Regions from separate parts of the Homo sapiens genome. Here region 1 is linked to region 2. Evidence: promoter capture Hi-C in human tissues and cell types (Jung and others, 2019). All regions are on one chromosome and are shown on one strand. The core of a region is centred on a gene start or on the middle of the fragment in contact, and the rest is flanking DNA. Distances in the headings are between cores, read along the strand shown.

Region 1 (5,342 bases), core at 2,224-4,723, 180 kb before region 2:
AGCAGAGACATCTGTCTGGGTTCAACCTGGCAATGCTCAAACCTATTTATCCCCAAAGAGCACTTTTCATGTGAAACTGCTACATGCCCCAGAGAACTGGTGATTCACAGGCACATCCTCTACAAAACACTGTTTGAGGGCATATATCACATCTCTAAAGATGACAGAAGACACATGCCCCAGATAATTAACTTTCCTATTTGCTAGGTGGGTGACTGCCACAGAGGGGAGAGGCACATGACAGTGACCAAAGAAACAGGATGCTCAGAACACACCAGTATTTATTAAGTATTGTGCAGAGCAGTTAACACAGCAGACCCGAGATTTCTACACGCTCAGAAAGGCCCGCTTGCAAGGCTAACCACTGAATGGTGTCCGTGAACCCGAAGGTAAACAGGGATGTTCAGATGGGAAGAGGGAGCCACGATTCCCAAGACACATTCAGTGTCAAAAAAAAATGTTTCCTGGTCAGAAGCATTTTTTGATTGAAAAAGCACAATAACTCATGCTGTTCTCATCCCCTGGTGGTGGCTGGGAACCTTATAGGACCCATTTGCCCCCGGCCCCCGATGGCCCTAGCCCTACCTCCTCAGGGAGAGGGCGCACTGGTGCTGCAGCTGGATGGCCGTGTCCCTCTGCTGGGTCAGCATCTCTGTCTGCTTCAGCAACCGCTGGTTCTCCTCCCCCAGCTGCTCCAGGCGGCTCAGGTCTGCATTGTGGATGGCGACTTTCTCACTGTACCTCTTCCGAAGGGCGTCATAGTCCTTCTTGACCACCTCCAACTTGTCCATGGCCGTGTCATACAGTTTGTTGAGAATCTCGGATGACCCGTTGTGCTTCAACACCTGGAGACCAGACAGTTTCACTTACCAAGGGTCTGTGGGAGGTGGCGGAGGAGACCTCCCACTCTCACTTTTGTCTATCTGAGGGTGAGACTGATGACAAGGCGGTTGGGGGGAGGGGGTTACCCTAAAGCTTTTGAGAGTCTTGAGGTCCAATTCTCCAGGCCCTGCAGTCACACTGGGCTGATTCATTTAGATTCACTCAGTCACAACTATTTACTAAGTATTGTGCAGAACAGTTAACACAGCTGACCTGAGACTTCTATATCCTTAGAAAGGCCTGCTTGCAAGGTTGACCCTACCGAATGGCGTCTAGGAACCCGAACAGTAAACAGTTCTCTAGGCTGATGTAAAACTTTTCTTCTGGTGATATAAGCAGCTCTGGTACTGAGCCTGTACAAATAAAGTGGCTTATGCTGAACACCTGCTTTCTACTGGGAGTCCAGAATCTGGGTACATGGCAGGCAGAAGTTCCTACATGACCAGCCCCCAATAAGACACTTGAGCACTGAGTCTCTAATGGGCCTCCGTGGAGGCCAGCACTTCTTGTGTGTTGTTGTGATTCCATGCTGGAGGAATTAAGTGCCTCCGGTGAAACTCCACCAGGAGAGGATTCTTGGAAACTCAGGCCCAGTTTCCCCTGGACTTTGCCTCACGCGCCTTTCCCCCTTTGCCGACTTTGCTCTGTGTACTTTTGTTGTAATAAATGTCAGCCATTGAGTATAATTACATACTGAATCTTTTGAGTCCTCCCAGAAAGTGACATAGCCCAGAATCAGGTTATGTAAATCGGACCTAAAGACTCTCAAAAGCCCTAGGGTGACCCTCCATGGTGTAGGGTCCCCCCGCATCCCATGCAAGTACCTAATATGTCTAGCACTGGTCTAGGGGCTGGTGATGCCAGACAGGACAGAAAGACGCTGTGCCCTGTGGGCCTTTTATCCTAATTTGGAGGGTGTGGACACACAGATAGGCCAAATAAAGTAACTTCAGAGCAAGGTAAGAACTATCAAGAAAATAAAAAATAAAACAGAATAATGGGCTGGAGAGAGCCATCTGAGCAGCAGAGTGGAGGTCTGTGAGGGAGGCTAAGGCTGAAGAGGCTTCTTGAAGAAGGCGACTTCAGAGGCAAATGAAGAAGAGCAGCGAGAGCACACTGGGCAGAGAGGGGGGCAGGGTCAAAGGCCCAGAGGCAGGGCCTGCAGGCGTGTTCTAGAGACAGAGAGGGGCAAGGCGGAGTAGCAAGAGCCCAATGCACAGGGGGAGGTGGGTTCAAAGGGGACCTGGAGAAGTGGGTGTGGGCATGGGGGTGGCCATGGCCGCAGGCCTCACAGTGAAGACTGTCTCCTGAGTGAGACAGGAAGCTGTGGAGGGTTTTAAGCTAGACAGCATTCTACTCTAAATGACAGGCACTAAAGTTCATTTGGGGTGCTGTTATAGAGAAAAAAACAAACCAAGAAGATGAGTTAAGAGGTTGCCAGGGGGGCTGCTGGCTTTGGCTAAGCACCTCATGGGATCTGAGCCCTGGGGTGAGTCACTCCACCTCTCTGGGTTTCAGCTTCCGGATTCCTCAAATGCCCAGGCTAGACCAGGAAAGCTTGTCTGGCCCTTCCAGCTCCAACAGCCGAGGAATCACCTGGCTCATTCAGTGGCAGCCTGGTTTATCAAGCGTTTGCAGCCTAGAGAACCAGAAGCTGGGACGATGGAACACTCCCTTTGGAATTAGGGTCAGCTCTCAATAAACACGAAAAACACAAAAAGCAAAAGAGGGCTTAATTTAAAAGTCAGAATCATAGCAACAAGAAAGTAAGGTCTTCCTCTAAGACCTAAGCATTAGATTCTAGGACTGTAGACTCTTAAAGAGGAAGTCAAGGAAGAGGGAGAAATGGAGGGAAGGAGGGAAGAAGGGAAGGAAGGAAGGAAGGGGAGGAGAAAGAGAAAGAGAGAGAAAGAAAGGGAAAGGAGGGAGGGAGAGAGGGAGGGAGGATTGGTTCATTTCAGGCTCATTCTTTTTCCTTTATTTATTTTTAAAGCAGAACATTTTCTTTCAAGGGAAATCTTACTAGTACACCAAAAATACAGAACTTATTTTAAAAAGCAGTACACAGGTATCTCAGGCAGTCAAAATCTTCACTGTTTTGTAAAATGGCATCACTGTTGCAAAACAGGAATGCACACTGAGAAACAGAACCTCACTGACAGTGCCCACTCTACATCTAAAATCTTTCTTTAAAAAAAAAAAAAAAAAAAAAAAGCCCTGGCCAGGCACAGTGGCACATGCCTGTAATCCCAGCACTTTGGGAAGCCGAGGTAGGCGGATCACCTGAGGTCAGGAGTTTGAGACCAGCCTGACCAACATGGTGAAACCTTGTCTCTACTAAACATACAAAAATTAGCTGGGCGTGGTGGCGGGCACCTGTAATCCCAGCTACTCGGGAGGCTGAGGCAGGAGAATTGCTTGAACCCAGGATGCGGAGGTGGCAGTGAGCCGAGATCACGCCATGGCACTCCAGCCTGGGTGACAAGCGCGAGACTTCGTCTCAAAAAAAAGACGAAGAATGGGCTCACCATGACTATACTGGGTCAGTGAAGGACAGTCCTGACATCTGGTCAACCAACGCCTTCTACCCACATCTGGAAAGGTCCAGCATCTAAACTGGATTGCCCTGATTGGTGAGCAATACCTCAAAAATGCCAATTAAAAATTACTTCAGGCCGGGCGCAGTGGCTCACGCCTGTAATCCCAGCACTTTGGGAGGCCGAGGTGAGCAGATCACAAGATTGGAAGTTCCAGACCAGCCTGGCTAACATGGTGAAACCCTGTCTCTACTAAAAATACAAAAATTAGCCGGGTGTGGTGGCAGGCACCTGGAATCCCTGCTACTCCGGAGGCTGAGGCAGGAGAATTACTTGAACCCAGGAGGCGTAGGTTGCAGTGAGCCAAGACTGTGCCACTGCACCCCAGCCTTGGCGACAGAGAAATATTCTGTCTCAAAAAAAAAAATTACCTCAAATGTTTTACTGTCTAAACATCCCCTAAGCCAAGTGAGAACCCCATTGGCTCCAAATGAGTCTGCTTTGCTGGGGAACAAAGGAGGCTGTCATTGCCTGAGTTCCCCACAAGGTGGCAGCCGCGGGGAGACGAGCCAACGCTCTCCTGCAGCGGCTTCCCGCCTTCCCAGCTCAGAAACAAACTCATTCCAAAGGCAGCCTTGAAATGACACAAAGCCCGGTTCTGGGTGGTAGCCCGCAGAGCCCACCTCCACAAGTGCTCGGCAGAATCAGGAGTCTATACCATGGTTTGGCCTCTTTGCAGTCCCCTGAATGGCTAACCTTGAGGGGCCTGGATCCGGGCCTGTGTGACAATCCAGGGATGATTCAGGGCCGTGTGAATCAGGCTGCCAGCAAGGGCCGTGAGAGTGGGCCACGAATTCCCAGTGCGACAGGGTGGGTCACAGACCTCGAGGTCCTTTCAGCTGCTCCCCCCAGCCTTCATAACATGGTAGGATCCTCGGGTCAGAAGACCGAGAGAGAGAGATCAGGCCCCGTACTGCTTGCTTCCACCACGATGACGGCCACCCTCGGCCTGCTCCACAAGTGAAAGCTCCTTGGGATAGGGTCGTGCTCACCGGGAGCTACTCCGCCTCCCTGCAACTCCTAACCTCTGGTTCTCACTCTAGCCTTGGAGTCAAACAGAATAACCTGTTCCCACAGGGCAGCATCCAGATACTCAAAGAGGCTCGCAGGCCCCAAACACTTCTCACCCTTTCTCTACAAACAGGACTCAGTGCCAGGCCTGTACTATGTAACCAACAGCCTCTGAACAAAGCTGGGGAACCAGGTCATGGTTAACTCCGGAGAATCCAAAAAACTAAATCTATTGGTCTAGAATTTTTCCCTCTCGCCATCAGAGGATTATGTTCTTGGTAGGTATTTCCACATGCACATGCACACACGAGTGCGCACACACACACACACACCTAACTACAGTCAAATGTTTAGCTTCCCAGCAAAAGCTAATGAAGAGAGAATATTTAAATTTGGCCCAGAATTCTAAAATTAAAGTGATCACAGTTCACTGCAACCTCAACCTCCCAGGCTCAAGTGATCCTCCTGCCTCCGCCTCCCAAGTAGCTGGGACCACAGACACGCCCCACCACACCTGGCTGATTTTTTATTTTTTGTAGAGATGGGGGTCTCACTATGTTGCCCAGGCTGGTCTTGAACTCCTAGACTCAAGTGATACACCCACTTTGGCTTCCCAAAGTGCTAAGATTACAGGCGTGAGCCCTGAGCCTGGCCTGAGAGTCAACTTTTCCACTCAGGCAGGCAGCAGTCTTTAGAGATGATGTCCCTCCAGCCTGAGCACGGGACAGTTGGCCTGTGAGTTCAAGGGGCTTAGGAGAAATGGGTGGAAGTTGCACAGGGGAGGCACAAAGACAGCCACAGTCTAAGCTGTTCCCTGCAGGGAGGCCAGGAAGAGACCAACCCTCCTACCTG
Region 2 (4,910 bases), core at 1,050-3,549:
GGGACTGGCACAAGCTTGGCATTTTCAAGGAACCAAATGAAATCAGTATATACTGGAGCATAGAAAGCTAATAGTACAAGATAAAGTCAGTGAAGCATGCAGGAGCTAAAGCATGAGGGCTTGGGAACTTTGGTAGGGAATTTATTTAAATAACATAAATGCAGCCGGGTGCGGTGGCTCATGCCTGTAATCCCAGCACTTTGGGAGGCCAAGGTGGGTGGATCACGAGGCAAGGAGATTGAGACCATCCTGGCTAACATGGTGAAACCCTGTCTCTACTAAAAATACAAAAAATTTGCTAGGCGTGATGGCCCACACAATGGAAAGCTGCTAGAGGATTTTTTTTTTTCCCTGAGACAGAGTCTTGCTCTGTCACCCAGGCTGGAGTGCAGTGGTGCGATCTCAGCTCACTGCAACCTCTGCCTCCTGGGTTCAAGCGATTCTCCTGCCTCAGACTCCCAAGTAGCTGGGGTTACAGGCATACAGGCATGCGCCACCGCACCCAGCTAATTTTTGTATTTTTAGTAGAGATGAGGTTTTACCATATTGGCCAGTCTGGTCTTGAACTTCTGACCTCATGATCTGCCTGCCATGGCCTCCCAAAGTGCTGGGATTACAGACGTGAGCCACCACTCCTGGCCTCTGCTAGAGGATTTTAATTGACAATACCCTTAATTTGCACTTTGACAGAAGCACTTTCTCTGTTTTGTGAGAATGTATTATATCTGACTGGGCGCAGGTGTACAGGTGGGTGTGAAGGGCCAGTGTCGATGTAGAGCTACCACATGGGAGAATGCTGCATTCACCTAGGTAAGACACCTGTTCTAGTGAATGGCAACCATCCACACAGCTGCCCAAGCAAGGCATTCTGTATATCCGTCTCAAGGTCTCTCGACCTCTAATTCTTTCCACCATGAATCAAGAGATTTTCCAGAAGGAGAACTCTTATCAAGATACTCTCCTGTTGAAAATCCTTCAAAGGTTCCTCACTGCCTACAAGATGACTTCTTAACACAGCTTCAAGTCTTCTGCTTCCTTCTGATCACCTGTGTTCTCTCCCTCAGGTCTGCTCCTTGAAAAAAGCAGTTTGGTCTGCTTTCTTTTGCCTGGACCCATTATGTGCTCTCAAAACCCCCTGGACCTACCCTTGTCATTGCACTTGTCGTACCCAGTGTTGACTTGTGTACCTTCTCCAACTAGATTAGGCAGTAAAAGTTTTATTCAGACCGTATCTTTAACGTCCAACACTGGGAATAACGCGCAGTATCCTCCTCAGTGTCTGCTGTAAGAATGATGAATTCACTTTTTTTTTTGAGACACCGTCTCACTCTGTCACTCAGGGTGGAATGCAGGAGGTTGCCCACTGCAACCTCTGCCTCCCAGGCTCAAGTGATTTTTCGGCCTCAGCCTCCCGAGTAGCTGGGACCACAAGGGCGCGCCACCACGCCTGCTAATTTTTGTATTTTTGATAGAGACGGGGTTTCGCCACGTTGCCCAGGCTAGTCTCAAACTCCTGAGCTCAGGAGATTCACCCGCTTCGGCCTCCTAAAGTGCTGGGATTACAGGAGTAAGCCACCGCGCCCGGCTGGATTCACTTTCTTACCGAGAACTCTAAGAAGGAGCCACCGCCTAATAACGTATTTCTGAAGGCAAAAGTCCGGATAGCAGCTTTATTTCTGACACTGCCATCCGTCGGCCTGTGGTACAGCTTTCTAGTGGGCAACCCCATCCTTTTGGTAAGCAACTACTGCCTCCGTGTCAGACGCTCTGCGGCTGACAGAATTAGAGACAGTCCCCGCCCCAGATTGCTCCCCTCGCTGCAGCAGGGGATAGTTCGCTGAAGAACAGGGATCATTGTATGACTTCAGGAGAATGCGAGCTTTGGCCCAGGGTGCACAAATCATTAAGGCTCAGGCCACTCCGACTTCTCCGCCCAAGTCCAGGGACCTCTCGAGGTGCTGAAATCCCCTCAGCCTGACCAATGCTCTTTGACCAACGCTGGTAGTTCTGGGCGCTGGTCACACCTATGGACTACTGGCCCTCCCCTTCCCATTGCACCCCATCTCTGACCCTGCAAGACCCGGGACCGCTGACCTCGGACCCCTTGCCCTATTTCTCAGCCCTTTGGCCACTCTTACTCCGTCTTACATTTTCTTGGCCACATCCGTCTCCCGGAACTGCTCCTTCACCATGATGACCGCTGCCGGGACGCCTCCTTGGCACTCGGGAGGCCAGATTAGAGAAACGATGCCCCCAGCACCTCCTGGGGCTGCTTCTGGACTCGCCGCTAACACATCTGCGGCATCCTCTCGGCCACCGTAGAGTGTCCCACGTGTCCGCTTCCTCTTCCGCTACTCGCCCGCGCGTCTGTCTGTCAAGAGAGACTTCCGGCATGCCTTTTTTTTTTTTTTTTTTCCCTTTCCCCGCACCGTCACCTGGTGGCGCTTACTGGAAGCCGCACCGAGGCGTGTGCTGTATTTTAAAAATCCCATTTCTGGTCAATTTCTCCACGTAATCAGACACCCGCAGAGAAACTGCATATAACTCTTTGCCTCAAGGCTTTTAGACAAGCAGAGGGCCAAAACTTGCATAAAATGGAAAATCATCATCATTAACATCAGTACCATCTAAATTAAGAGCTTCTAATTGTTTTAAGGGAAGGTGGAAGCTAAAATGAACCGGCCCATCCAACAGAGGGCACTATCTGTGGAGGACCAACAAAGGAAAACAGAGCGGAAAATATGGGCGCACATGTGCCTCCAGTTCATGAAGTTATTTGGAGGGAGGGGGGAAGAATTAAACTTACATTATTGATTACAAAAACAGTTGAAAATCTGTTAGAGTGAAAACAGCCATGGTAATCTACAGAAGAAAAGGGAGAATGGAAAGTAAAGATCATTCATGTCTTGAAATAAGTTGTCTACAGTCTGTGAGAACTTGTGGGAGGTGATCCTAGTGTGATATATTAGTGCATGAGCCTAGCAAGGAAATCACATCACCACAGGGCTTAGCGCTTAGAATTAGAACTAAGTCCTCATTATTTGTGAGAAACTCAAAACAGAACTTAACAAAAGTGTTTAACAACTTTCAATTTTTAAGAAGGGACGCTATCTCATTTTCAGACGCCATGGATCCTCACTAGCAAAACACAATGTCACAGACAAACGAGGCATATCAGGTTTTTCTAACTCATTTCGGTACTCCATCACTTAATCATGAAATAATGTTGACTATATATATATATATATATATATATATATAGTCAACATTATGGGTTTTTTTTGTTTTTTTTTTTTTTTTTTTTTTGAGACGGAGTCTCGCTCTGTCGCCTAGACTGGAGTGCAGTGGCGAAATCTCGGCTCACCGCAACCTCCGCCTCCCGGGTTCAAGCGATTCTCCTGGCTCAGCCTCCCGAGTAGCTGGGACTACAAGCGCCCGCCACCACGCCCAGCTAATTTTTGTATTTTTAGTAGAGACGGGGTTTTACTATGTTGGCCAGGCTGGTCTCGAATCCCTGACCTCGTGATCCGCCCGCCTCAGTCTCCCAAAGTGATAGGATTACAGGTGTGAGCCACCACACCCGGCTCTGATGTTTACAATATTATACCAACAAGGGTTGGATCGTGTGTGACTTATCTAGAGGTTAAGAGCAAAAGTTATGAAATCACAGTGCCATCATGGGAGTCTAGCTTTCACCATTTAAAGTTGTGTAGGCAGCCAGGCGTGGTGGCTCACGCCTGTAATCCTAGCACTTTGGGAGGCCAAGGTGGGCGGATCACCTGAGGTCAGGAGTTCGGGACCAGCCTGGTCAACATGGTGAAACCCCATCTCTACTAAAAATACAAAAATTAGCTGGGGTTGGTGGTGTGCGCCTGTAATCCCAGGTACTCGGGAGGCTGAGGCAGGAGAATCGCTTGAAGCTGGGAGGTGGAGGTTGCAGTGAGCCGAGACCATGCCATTGCACTGCAGCCTGGGCGACAAGAGTGAAACTCCATCTCAAAAATAAAAAAAAATAAAAAATAAAGTTGTGCAGGCCGGGCGCGGTGGCTCACGCCTGTAATCTCAGCACTTTGGGAGGCCGAGGTGGGCAGATCATGAGGTCAGGAATTTGAGACCAGCCTGACCAATATGGTGAAACTCCGTCTCTACTAAAAAATACAAAAATTAGCCTGGTGTGGTGGCGCATTCCTGTAATTCCAGCAACTCAGGAGGCTAAGGCAGGAGAATCGCTTAAATCCGGGAGGCGGAGGTTGCAGTGAGCCAAGATTGTGCCACTGCACTCCAGCCTGGGCAACAGAGCAAGACTCTGCCTCAAAAAAAAAAAAAAAAAAAATATATATATATATATATATAGATATAGATATAGATATATGTGTATATATACACATACGTGTATATATACACGTATATAAAGTGTGAACTTGGGAAAGTTATTTAATCTTATTGTGTGTTAGTTTCCCCATTTATAACATGGGTGAGTAATATGTATCCTATTTCTTAGAGTCAATGGGAAGGTTAAATAGCAAAATGAAGGTAAAAGTAATTAGAATGTAACAGGCACATTACAATCACTCAATAAATATTCTTCTGCCTCAGCCTCCCGAGTAGCTGGGACTACAGGTGCGCACCACCATGCCTGGCTAATTTTTGTATTTTTAGTAGAGACGGGGTTTCACCATATTGGCTAGGCTGGTCTTGAACTCCTGACCTCGTGATCTGCCTGCCTCGGCCTTCCAGAGTGCTGGGATTACAGGCATGAGCCACCGTGCCCAGCCGGCTGACTATTTTCTTAAGAATAAGGATAGTTGGTCACCTCGGGAGGCTGAGGCAGAAGAATCGCTTGAACTTGGGAGGCGGATGTTGCAGTGACCCGAGATCCCGCCACTGCACTCCAGCCTGGGTGACAGAGC

Evidence for each region. The method cuts DNA at HindIII sites, captures the fragments that hold promoters and counts their contacts. A contact is called where the count stands out against the background at its distance.
Region 1: a fragment that was not itself captured here is called in contact with the fragment with the promoter of POLR3A in region 2 in 4 of the 25 tissues and cell types used here (H1 embryonic stem cells, adrenal gland, dorsolateral prefrontal cortex and 1 more).

The regions. Positions count from the first base shown.
Region 1 is chr10:77,842,862-77,848,203 of GRCh38, forward strand. It overlaps DLG5 (discs large MAGUK scaffold protein 5), which reads right to left. Exons shown (of 32, transcript NM_004747.4): 6 at 586-845. Among named protein-coding and RNA genes, the nearest start is that of DLG5, 81 kb to the right of the region's middle. The HindIII fragment of the contact is 9,044 bases long and covers 1-5,342 here.
Region 2 is chr10:78,027,216-78,032,125 of GRCh38, forward strand. It overlaps POLR3A (RNA polymerase III subunit A), which reads right to left and starts at 2,300. Exons shown (of 31, transcript NM_007055.4): 1 at 2,149-2,300. The coding sequence starts at 2,192. RefSeq lists an enhancer at 2,220-2,469. The HindIII fragment of the contact is 17,222 bases long and covers 1-4,910 here.